2 separate regions of the Homo sapiens genome follow, and region 1 is linked to region 2. The links are contacts of gene promoters, found by promoter capture Hi-C in blood cells and fetal thymus (Javierre and others, 2016). All regions are on one chromosome and are shown on one strand. Each heading gives the region's core, a stretch centred on a gene start or on the middle of the fragment in contact. The rest is flanking DNA. Distances are from core to core; before and after follow the strand shown.

Region 1 (6,473 bases), core at 1,454-3,953, 34 kb after region 2:
AGAGAGTGATAAACTGTCATCTCCTTAAAGTAATCTATGCTGCTTTCGAATCAGCTCTTCTCCACCTTGACAGATGGGATTAGATTCATCTCACTTCCCCTTTGGCAATTGAAAATATCAATGAGATATTAGTGTGCTTGCCTCTGACTTTCTCCTGGGGCAAAATACTGATGGTCCAGAATGAATGTGGCAGTTGATTTACTGTGTGGTGTCTGAAGGCACACAGACAAGTCCTCCTGTTGATGAGGGGAAATGGGGAGAAGGGAACCCCTAGCCACTTTATGGGACTGGCTCACAGGCCTGTGTTGTTCAAACTAGTTGAGGAGACACAATTGCAGAGGAGCCGACTCACCTGGGCCAACTCACTCAACATTGCCTGGGAGAATGGTCAGCCCCAGTATTAGAGACCCAAGACAATGAAAATTTTCAAGTTCTATGACCTTGACCAGTTAGTTGACCTCTCCAGACCTCAGTTACTTCATTCACAAAATGGGGATAGAGTCATGGAATGACTGTGAGATTAAATGAGATAATGTCCATGAAAGTTGTCAGAATCAAAATGGAATCACTAACAAGAAACCCCTGATAAATAGAGCTAGGGAAGGCCCTGAAGAGAGCATTCTCATGCTTGTATGCCTGGTAACAAAAGCTATCACAAAAGATTGCAAAAGCCACAACCTCCTACAAAAGCCATTACAACCTTACACAAAAAAGACTTCTGCAAAGACATCTGCCCAGCAACTGCCTGTCCAACCTTGGACTCGCATCACCCTTGTTATTGATCTTTATAGCCAAGGATAATTATTTCAAAACAATTATGTAATTCTCCACATTTTTTCTGTTAAAAACCTTTGTCTTCCTCTACCTCCCTGAATACATGCATTACTAAGGCAGGCATATTCCTATGCAATGCTCTATTCCCAAATAAATATTCTTTTCTTTTATAGAGACTCTCTTTGTTTGTTATTTAGGTTGACAATGGATCTGCTTTGTAAATGTTGATTTTTCATCTTTAAGTACCAGAGTAAATGCAATGTTCTTGAATGAGATACTGACCAAACTTACAGATATTAAACTGAGGCGTGGAGAGAGGTGGCATCCATAGCAGTCAAGTAAATCAGAAAGTGCTGCCTTTGCTGCTGTTGACCGTTGTGATTACCCCAGTTTCTGCTGCCTCCTTGGGAGCTGGAATAATGCACAGGTGAAGGGTTGGAGAGGGTAAGTTTCCTATGAGATTTCCAAAGGGAATTTCTTCACTAATGAAACAATCATTCACTGAACACCTATGAGCCAGATGCTTTTCTAGGCACCATGAAGGGTAAAGACAAGACACTGAAGTTTTAAAAAGGCCCTGATTCTGGCTGGGCATGGTGGCTCACGCCTGTAATCCTAGCACTTTGGGAGGCTAAGTCGGGCAGAGCACCTGAGGTCGGGAGTTCGAGACCAGCTTGACCAACATGGAGAAACCCCGTCTCTAAAAATACAAAAAAGTTAACTGGGTGTGGTGGCGCATGCCTGTAATCCCAGCTACTCGGGAGGCTGAGGCAGGAGAATCGCTTGAACCTGGGAGGCAGAGGTTGCGGTGAGCCGAGATTGTGCCATTGCACTCCAGCCTGGGCAACAAGAGCGAAACTCCATCTCAAAAAAAAAAAAGAAAGAAAGAAAGAAAAGAAAAAGGCCTTAATTCTGAGGTTTGGTGCTTCACTATTCATCCTCCTCCCTCTCCCTCTCCCTTTCTCCCAACCAGGAGAGCTCTGTCCCTGAAAGGAATGGGGAGAGACAGATGCCTACTCTATTCAAGTCCTCTCCTAGAATTTGGTGCCTGTCAGCCAGCCGTGGTGGCTCATATCTGTAATCCCAGAAGTTTGGGAGGCCGAAGCAGGAGGATTGCTTGAAGCCAGGAGTTTGAGACCAGCCTGGGCAACAGAGTGAGATCCCCATCTCTACAAAGAAAATAAAAAAATTCAAAAGAATGTGTTTCCTGGAAACAGTAGTGCAGGCCCCAATCTCCGGGCAGGGTCATGCGTGGAAGCTGTTATTGGTAATGATCGTTGGTCTGAAAAGTTTCTCTTACCCAAAGTTCAAGTTGAGTTTTTTTTTTTTTCATTATCTCTAGCTTATTAACTATATAGAGCACAAACTCCTTCAGTGAGGAAGCCCTGTCTGAATTATTATTGCTATCTGCATAGAATTTGGCAAAGTAGGGGTAAGGGATCCATAAAGAAATGGAACTGTGGATCTACAGTGAGACTCTGAGATGCTTTATGATGACCCTTATCTCTAGGAGCACAAAGTACAATGATCAACACTCCCAAATTCCATATTAGTCTAGGCTCATGCAGGAGAGAAGGTAGAATGCACCTCTCCCGTTTGTCAAGGAGTGGAATGCTGCCCAGTAAAGTTGTTTGGAGACATTGTGGAAGAGGCTGTGGTGTCAATCCCTCCAGAGGGATTCTTGCTTTGCATGAGGCAGAACTCAGGTAGGACATTCACACTCAGAGGTGTCCTACTCAGTCTAAGCTTCTAGTGACAAAGCTTCTAATCACACATGAGGAAAATGCCCCTGCTGGTCTCACACTCTGGGAGCAAGAGTTCTCCCTCATGCAAAGCAAGAATCCTTCTGGATGCTTTCATGCTGCTCACCCGCTTTTGAATGGCTTTGCTATGTGTGGGCCACTTTCAAGACAGTTACATAGAGCAGAGCATTTTCTCTCCAGCCTCCTTTACAACTAAAGCCAGGTATGTGATCCAGGCTCCATCACTGCTGGGAAGGGCAGCAGTAGAGGCATCTGGCTTCAGGGGAAGCAGTGATTGCAGGATTACGTTCCTCCTGCAGAGGGGCATTTTCCTCATGTATGATTTGAAGCTTTGTCACTAGAACTTAGACTGAGCTCTCTAGTCCTCCCAGTTCCACAAGCTACCCAATGTCATTTTAATTAACTTCCTTTCCTATTCTTTAAACCAGCGTCAGCTTCTGTTGCTTGCAGCTAAGAATGCTGAATGCAGTCTAATCCACATTTGCCTCAGCTGTCATTTCTTGAGATCCTAATGACAACAGCTTTCATTTGTTCAGTGCTTACAATGGTGCCTGGAACTGTGCTAGGAGCTTTATATTGCATTGTCTCATGAAATTCTCATAATGACACTGCAAGGTAAGTACTGTTTCTAGTGAATTTATCTTCCCATTTATAGTGGGGGAAAACCGAGGTATCAAGGCATCAGAGGATTTGTCCACAGGCTTACAAGAGGGTACTAAAGTGTTGTGACAGTAGACCAGTTCTTGGATTCCAAGGGGAATGTGGGAGTCCGGAAGAAATCTTTGCGCTCTGCTCTCCATGCTGGGGGGTGCAGAACTCTAAGCAGGTCATTTTGTCTCCATGACATTCTCTTCTCTGAGGTAAGAATCAGTAACACCCATCTAATCTGGAGATGGTGAAATAAAGACAAAAATATTTTACTGTCCAAGAAGGATTTTTCCAGGACAACAGCAGAGGTAGTTGACAATGGTACATATTGTTACCCCACAAAGAGGGTCTCTGAAACCCACTGGGGAACATGGGGTGGAAATGGATGCAGAGCAAAAGAAGCTGCAAGCCTGAGTTTGACTAAAACCCTCAGTGCACAGGCCTGCATCACAAATACGTTTTAATACAGGTAATTTCTTTTCCATTCATTTGTAAGCACTTATTTCATTTACCCAATTCCAAGGCCAATAAATCTTGGCATTAAGGCTGATTTGATGTGTATGCTGACAGTCTAATTAAGGATAGGGTATTTTATCAGCTCCTCTAAATTTTCATTTCTCTGGTCTATGATTTTTTTATACTGGGTTGATCTTTTTTTTATTCATAAGGGCTTCATTCCCATTTGTCATGGCTGCATTAACTGGGCATCTAATGAAGACTTGGATATGAAAGTCTGCATCTCATTTATCCTCTGTAGCAAAATTAATAAAGCAGCAGGAAAACAGTTTCCTGTACTGGAACTTCTTTAGCCCATCCTGAGTCATATAAAATGTATTTTGCTTGTGTTTTCCAGAATTTGGGCTCAGCTCTAAACTTTAGGAGATGGTGTCCAACTTCAACTTCCATCCACTGACAGGCCTTACATACCCTGCTTCCTGCCCCACCTATTGCTTGGAGATCGAGTAATCAAGTGAAAATGAGGTCTTTCAGGTGGGACTCTTCTGCTTGAAGAGGCTTGAACTGGAATGGCTGGGAGCTGATTTTCCCACTCATCCCCTCTACCCACATTTATTGAGCTTCTTCTACAGGTCAAGCTCAGAGACATAAAAGACTCAAGAAGGTCACAGTCAAATTAAGTTATGACACCAATGTTGGCCAATGTCCAGTGAAAGAAAAATATCTTGGCCAAAGATCAAGGTTGGGAGCAAGCTGGAAAGATCATTTGCTCTATCCTTTTGCCTCGGGGAGGGTGACCCTCCCAGCCAGTGCTTGAATGAAGGGCTGCCAAAAGTCTGTGATATTTTTGACTTGCAGACTTTATGGGTATACGAACAGATATATCCACAAAGGTTTCCTAGGGCTGCCATAACAAACTGGGTGGCCTAACCAACATGAATTTATTGTCTCACAGTGCCAGAGGGTAGCAGTCCAAAATCAAGGTGTCAGTGAGGTTGCTTCCTTCTGAGGGCTGTTAGGGAAGGATCTGTTCCAGGCCTTGGCTATAGATGACTATCTGTTCTTTATGTCTCTTCACACCATCTTCCCTCTATGTACATCTGTGTCCAAATTTCCCCTTTTTATGAGGACACCAGCCATACTGGACTAAGGCCCACCCTAACAACCTCATTTTCACCTGATTACCTCTGTAAAGGTCCTATCTCCAAATATGGTCACATTCTGAGGTACTGGGGGTTAGAACTTTGACATATGAATTTTGGGGAGACATAATTCAACCCATAACAATGAGTATCTCTGAAGCTGGTTGAACTAAAGCTCTAAGACAGCCTCTTGTAGTACAGTATAGTTAGAACACCAGAAAGAAAGTTAAGAATCCGAAGTTAAAGGTCCAAATTAGTCCCTTCCCCTCTCTGAGCCTCAGATTTCTTCTCTGTACAATAAGAGATCTGGACTGGGCCTGCTAAATCCCCTCACAGTTCTCGGGTTGTGTGGTTGATGAAGTGATAGAAATTGAAGCAGTGTCGTGGGGAAGTTAATGGTCAGGCTCCACCACTTACAAGCACAGTGATCTTCAGCAAATATTTATCTTCTGAGCCTCAGGGTTTTGTGTTTTTGTTGTTGTTGTTGTTGTTTTTAACTGTAAAAGGGGGATAGTGATGTTAGCTACTTCAAAAATGCTGTGAGGACCGAGAGACCCTTTGAATTGCCTGGCACGCTGTTGTCACTCCATGTATATGAACTGCTGATGATATTACTACCAATCGCTATTAGGAGTTAGGCTTTGAATCTATGGCTCAGCTCTCAGATGGTGTCCACTATTAGAAGGCAGGGCTGTGTCCCCAACCTGTTCTGCATCTGGGTCCTGTGCTGCAGCATGAATGCAGTAAGATGCTTTTGCCAGCAAGACTCTAGTGATCCTTGTGACAGGCCTGTCCCCATTTCCACCTTATGCAAATTCTACCCTATTCCATTCTAGCCCAGCTCCTTCACATTCATATTAGGGTTAGGACTAGAGTTTCAGGTGACTTTTTTTCTTGCTGTATTTTATCATTTTTATGCTATAGAAAAGTCTAATAAAAAGAATAAAATATACTGATTTAACATAGCTTTATAAAGCAGGTCGGCAAATCTAGCCCTGCAATTACAGCGGGATAATTTAGGAATCAGAGAGACTGAGGGGTTGAGGAGGATATATGTTATTTATTATTTAGGTGCACCAAGCCAGTCAGATTAACATCCAAAGGACTGAGCCCCGAACAAAGAGTTAAGTTACCTTTAAAGCATTTCATGGGGCAGGGGGAGATCTGTGCGAAGGGAAGCATATTACAGAAGCGAGAAATAGTTATTCATTTGACACATGCATTACATTATTTCTTACTTTTCAAGGAAAAACATGTTTTATGGCTTGAGTTTATCTGCCTAGTGACCTTGCAGCTGCACAGCTAGAGAAACAGGGTCTTCACAATGCCTGGGAAAGGGAGAGATAAGGCTCACTAGCCACAGACAGAAAAACAAGCAGATAATTTTTAAAGGACTCCACCTCTTTCTCTTTCTCAGGGGGAATTGGTTTTTTTAAAACATAAACTGAGTTTTTGCTTATGCATTTTTAAATTTCTTTCAATTCCTGTTTCACAATCCCCCTCTCCCGTAAATGCCAGACCACTTGAGGTCTGTGCCAATCATTTGGCTCTTACCTTCACTGAACTATTAGTTATTCTCTCAGATGTGTCCTCACCTAGATTATAAGCAACTTGAGGAAACAAACAGGTCTTCTTACTCAAATTTAACAAAACTTACTTGTTGACTTCCACAATGCACCAGCCCCTCTTA
Region 2 (5,977 bases), core at 897-3,396:
GCTCACATTTAACATGAGCCCACGTTAAATAAAAGCCAGAGCCGGGGAAGACAGAACTCTTAACTGCTCCAGACTCAGGTGGGGACCTGCTGAAGAAGCATCCACACTTGCCATTCTCAGAGATGCTATGTGGCTTTTCTGAGCTGAAATGCAAAGCTGGGTTTTGGATCACTCTTCTCCAATAAAAGCCTATGGGCACCTTCAGGCTGCTGTGTGGGACGTGGCAGGACCTGGAAGCCTCCTACTTGCTCAGACCCAAGAGGGAAAGAGTGGATGTCAGCTCCACAGATCATGCAGAGGAGTTACGGGTGGTGGGCACCCAGCTGTGCCTGTCTCCAGCCCAGCAAGGGCACGTCTCACACCCAGCCAGGCCACAAAAGCTTGGGGTTGGGGTAAAGGAAACCCCAGTCGACTCTTCTTCTCCCATAGAGGTGGGGCATCACTGTCCCACTCTTGGAAGAAGGATCATAAAGCCTTGGATGTGGGGACAGTTACAGTCCAGGGAGCAGGGGAGTGTAGAGGTGGTGGAGCCTGGGCTCCTGCTGAAAATCAGAAGTGGGACACCAGCAGGACATGGAGGATGTGGGGAGCCTGGGGGTTCCTGACTTCCCCTTACTGCCCTGTTCTCACCACTCACCTGTCTTTCCTGGGTTTCCCTCACCTAGGGAAAAGTGCTCTCTATTGTGCTTTTCACCGTGAAAATGTTTGCCTGCCGCTCTCAGATCTGCCTGCCCTGCTGTCACTCTGGGCCAGTGCTGGAGCTGGCACGGGTGGTGAGGCAAGCCTGGCATCCAGGCCAACCACGCTGCTCCTGCCCTCACCGCGCAGCAGCCGGGGCTTCTCTCCATTGTTCTTGCCCTCCCAGATTTTCAAGCTACCCCATAGAAGGGCAGCCTACAGTGTAAACACTTCATTAGGTATAATTCTGCCTTCACAATTATTTTTATTTTTGCTTTGGATCTCAAAAGCATTTGACTCGCCTTTAATATTTGTTCTTTTGAACTCAGTGTTTTTCCTTTAAAAGAGAAAAGAAAGAATTTGTCCTTTCTGTGAATGGTAAAATTAACCCAATTCCAGGAATTGTTTGGCATTTCTCTACATTTCCACTATCCATGTAAAAAGCTGGTGGAGGCTGAACTAAAAGTTAGTTTCCCTGCTTCCCCGACCTTTTTCTTCCAGTGGATTTTATATGGAAAGCTCTCAGGTACAGCATTGCTTTCTGCTTCAGTAAGAATGGTCCTGCTACCATAACACATCATGTGCCCCTATTTGAAGGTGGTTTGAGGTAAAAGCAAACTTCCGAGAGAAAACCATGATCTGAATATTTTGAACCAATTGTACAGTGCCCATATGCTGAACCTTTGCTTCTCTGCTTCGAGACTGGATATCTACTTGTTATCTGGATGCTTGCTTTGGGGTACACTCAGCTGAATGTTAGTGGCACCCATATTCCTCTCAGAACTAACTAGGCAGGCACAGAGTGAAAGAGTTTCAAAGATATCCTTTCTAAGCGGAGGTTAAGTTTATACAATAGAAGTTTATAAGCTTACCACCTTTAATTAAGCTTACTGCCTTTAATTAAGTCAACATGCTATGTAAATTAATATTAATATTAATATGTGAATCAGACCATAAATAAAAATTAAAATTCACACAAAAGATAAGTTAAGGTTTGCCAATCCACTTTATAAAGGAATTCCTTATTACTTAATAGGAATCTTCACTTTACCAAAGGACTGAACTTCAAAATGTTCAATGCTCTGCTAACACATTGAAAACAGGATTTGATTCATACACAGCTTCTCAAAAGCAGATCCCATTTAGTAGAGTGAGGTCTAACTAGTCTGAAAATCGCATGCAATCCCTTTAATGCATAATTCCCCATTCCCTTTGGTTCACACTGTGTTGAGCCAACAGAGCCTCCTGCATGGTTCCTGGGCTCACAACCCGTGCAGACCCTGACATCTTCCCAAAACCCAAGGCACAGAGAATGTTAGGCGACTTACCCCTGTGATCACAGCACAGTCAGACACAGTTACTAGGAGGAGCATGATTGAGACTCGCGTGGCACCTCTCATGGTCACTTGGGGTGAAGGCAAAACACTGCCTGCTTAGATGCCTCTCGCTTCCTCCCGCTCAGCCTTGTGCCTGGCAAGCTGGGGAGGCCAGGCTCTCCTGCATCCCCCGCCTCCTCCCAGATGTTTACACTCAGGATCCAGGGCTGCCTGTGGATGCCTCATCTCTGCTCTTCCCTTCTCCAACACCGATGTTACTCAGATGATCTCAGAAGCGAAGATGAGACCTGAATCTCTAACAACATCAAATCAACATCAAAACCAATAAAAATGGATACTTGGGGGGCTTTGACGGTTGCTCTAACTCTCCCAAGAACGCAGTGATTCAGACAGTTATGTATATTTCACTCAATGTTCTTTTCTGCCTCTGGGTATCCTTCTATCCTACTTGGGGCAGAGGAAAGCCTCTGGTAATGAATTAAGGGATTTGCAACATCACCATTTATGCTTCCCTGCACCAAACTATGCAACATACAAGATTATTGGTTCCCTCTCACTCACACCAAGACTTATCTAGGCATTTACCATGGGCTCAACACAGAGGTAGCTGAGAAGACAGAAGAGGGTGAGGTGGTATCCTTATTTCTCTAAAAGGTTAAAATTATAGTGAGGAGCCATAAGACAGTGAGGAAAAAAAGACCAGACTTGTGGGGCTGATGTTCCTAAGTGACACACACATAAGGATTTGCTCTCTCATGGGCTCAGGATGAACACCAGCAAGTGTCCCTTGGTACAATGACCCAAGGGCAGAAAGCCAGCAAACATACAGGGCACACACTCTCTCAGTACCCTGCAGAGCCGAGCTGGTATGGGCTGTGGCTGAAAGGTACCAGAGCCACACCACTGGCCTTCCAGTTTTAGGGGTGAGCATGAGAGTGGCCTTATCCGTGAGTGTATAAACACGGTGGTCTCAGATGCCAGTCTGGTGGGAAGTTGACTTTCGGGATGGCCCCTCCGCCTGTGAGGGAAGCCCCTGACCCCAGCCCTCTCTGTGTCATACGACCCAGAGAGAGCTCCCAGTGCTTTGTCAGATGATCTGCCTTCTCTCCACAGTAATAAAAGCCAACATTTCCCAAGGTATGTGTTGCAATATGTTAATACACAAATAAACAAATAAAAGACTTCTACAGTCAAAAATTTGGGAAACACAAACCGGCTTGTTTTTTGCAGAACTTTTCAGGGCCTTTCATATGCTAATAAGTGTTTGAAACACCAAGTGGGAAATGCAGTTTGTAGTATTTCACAAGCAGATTCATCCACAAAACCTTTCTTATCAAATGTCACAGGGGTCTAGGGTTTCCACATTGAAACGCTGATAGGCATTTATGAGTGCAGAGAGGAAGGTTAACTAGCACGGGAGCTGGGAGCTAAGCCCCCAGAGGCAGATGCTTTGATTCAGATCGATGGCTTCATGACCTTGAAAATATTGCTAATCTCTCCAAGCCTCAGTTTTCCTATCTATAACATGGGATAAGAATAGCATTTACATCATACGATTTTGCGAGTATTCATCTATTTATTTATTCATTGACTATATTTATTGAGAGCCTACTGTATAGAAGACACTGTTCTTGGCACTGGGAATATAGCAGTGAACAAAACAAAACCCTGTCCTCATGTAATTTTGACTATAGTCAAGGAGACGGGTAATAGACAAATAAACAGATTTGTAATAAAATGGCCAGTTGTGTTGAGCACTGTTAAAAAGGAAGGCCAGGCGCAGTGGCTCATGCTTGTAATCCCAGCACTTAGAAGGTAGAGGCAGGCGGATCACTTGAGGTCAGGAGTTCGAGACCAGCCTGGTCAACATGGTGAAACCCCATCTCTAGTAAAAATATAAAAATTAGCCAGCTGTGGTGGCTCACGCCTGTAATCCCAGCTACTCGGGAGGCTGAGGCAAGAGAATCACTTGAACCTGGGAGGCAGAGGTTGCAGTGAGCCGAGATCGCGCCACTGCACTCCAGCCTGGGCAACAAAACGAGACTCCATCTCAAAAAATAAAAAAAAGGTGGTGGGGAGAAAGGCAGGGAAAGCAACAGACCTTGACAAGTGGTGATATTTTAGATGTGGTAAGGGTCTGTCTGAGAAGGCACTTGTGCAGATGACTGATAAAGTGAAGGAGTGAGCTGGACAGAGCCTGGATGAAAAGTCAGTGCAACAACCCTGTGGCAGGGCTTTTTGGCCAGTTCCAGGAGAAGCAAAGAGTGAGGTGAGCCAGGGGACGGGATGGGAGGGGATGCAGTTGGAGCAGGAGCCAAAGACCAAATCCAGCCTGCCTTGTGGGACATGGCAGGAACCTGACTCCAAGTGTGATGGGAACCCTTGGAGAGTTTGGAGCAGGGGAGAGGCAGGATCTGGTATACACTTGGATTTTTTTTAGAGACAAGGTCTTGCTCTGTTAGCCAGGTTGAAGTGTGATTATAGCTCACTGCAGCCTGGAACTCCTGGGCTCAAGCGATGCTCCTGCCTCAGCCTCCAGAGTAGCTAGGACTGTAGACACACACCACCGCACCTGGCCTGATTCACACCTTGAAAGGATCCCTCTGACTGCAGATGGAGAGTTAAGTGAGGTGATGCATATGAAGTGCTTACCACAATGCCTGGCACACAGCAGCATTTGCTACCAATGGCCAGTTTTTTCTATAAACATATGAACTTGTATGCCTTAATATAAAATTCTCCTGGGAGGTGAGAATCAAAATAATGAGTCTGTAAGGCCCACCTGTACACTGTGACACTGGGCCGGGCTGGTGACAGAAGAATCAAGAGACCATCCGAGCCTTGGAGGACCTTCTGCTCTGGGAGAAAAGCTACCTAGGGAGGAGGCAGCACTTTGCTGGGGGCTTGGAACACCTTACAGAAGTGGTCCTGTGGGCTCTGCTTGCCCTGCACACACTACCCCACCTCACAAGTTTGCCTTCCAAGAGACAATGTCAGATCAGGTGATTCTCAGGCTAACACCCGTCCCATTCGCTCCCCTATTCTCACTCCCTCCCTCCCCACTGCCACAAACACACAAAACTAATCATCTCACAATTGCAGTGAAGAATGGTAGCAAGAAATGCTGTTGCAAAACAAAACCAATAGCATTGATTAAAAGCATTTTATTTCTCTTGAATGCTAGTGCTTGAGGAAAAGCCATTTTAATTAGAGGAGGACAAGGGACAGAGGGCAACTTGGTGGAAATCCCAGAAGAGACTCTGAGGAGCTCCGGGGATAAGCAGTACTGATTCTTTATTCAATAACTCAATTACACATTCATTCAGTTCCTTCCATGTGTCAGGACCAGGAACTCGCACTTCTAGGGTCTAATTTCCCTCTAGACCTTAGAGCTCTCCTGTTCCCTTGTCTAGGTGGATTTCAACAGTACTTGATTCTTTTTTGCCATGGTTAGGGTTACTTTTTGGCTGCCAGGTGCAGTGTGGAAAAGGACAGTGGAAAGGAGAGGAAAACCCTGAACTAAGCAAGCATGAACTGGAGGAGACAAAGGAGGGAAGCCGGAGGGGAGGTGAGACAAGAAGCAAGTGGTAAAAAATGGAGGGGAAACGGTGAAAGTGCTAAAAGTGGACTTGGTTCCGCTGAGGGAGGAGAGAGCTAGTGGAGAAGATGTGCCGGGCAAGCCTTTCCCAGAATCCTACACACCTGCGGAGAGAATGAGGGCAGGTGGGCAGCATGCCATTGAGTGTCTGTGTAGAAGGGCTACGTGCAGTTCACATCTCATAACGTCAGCCTGGCCCTTATTTCTCTGCTTTAGCTGATGTCAGTGTCACCATGGACCATTTATACAGATGTGTGTGTGTGCGCGTGTAGCAACAGCCAATCTCAAGGCCTACCTTGAGGGGCCCCTCAAGATGTAGGGCGACCTTCTCATGGAGTGAGACTATGGAGTGGAATATTCCCTG

Evidence for each region. The method cuts DNA at HindIII sites, captures the fragments that hold promoters and counts their contacts. A CHiCAGO score of 5 or more calls a contact.
Region 1: a fragment that was not itself captured here is called in contact with the fragment with the promoter of PROK1 in region 2 in 1 of 17 cell types (M2 macrophages); the score reaches 5.4 in M2 macrophages.

Annotation. Positions count from the first base shown.
Region 1 is chr1:110,412,959-110,419,431 of GRCh38, reverse strand. It overlaps LAMTOR5-AS1 (LAMTOR5 and SLC16A4 antisense RNA 1), which reads right to left. Exons shown (of 3, transcript NR_102697.1): 3 at 3,158-3,423. Among named protein-coding and RNA genes, the nearest start is that of LAMTOR5-AS1, 8.4 kb to the right of the region's middle. The HindIII fragment of the contact is 331 bases long and covers 2,538-2,868 here.
Region 2 is chr1:110,447,318-110,453,294 of GRCh38, reverse strand. PROK1 (prokineticin 1) reads right to left here and starts at 2,146. Exons shown (of 3, transcript NM_032414.3): 1 at 2,007-2,146. The coding sequence starts at 2,078. The HindIII fragment of the contact is 11,265 bases long and covers 1,567-5,977 here.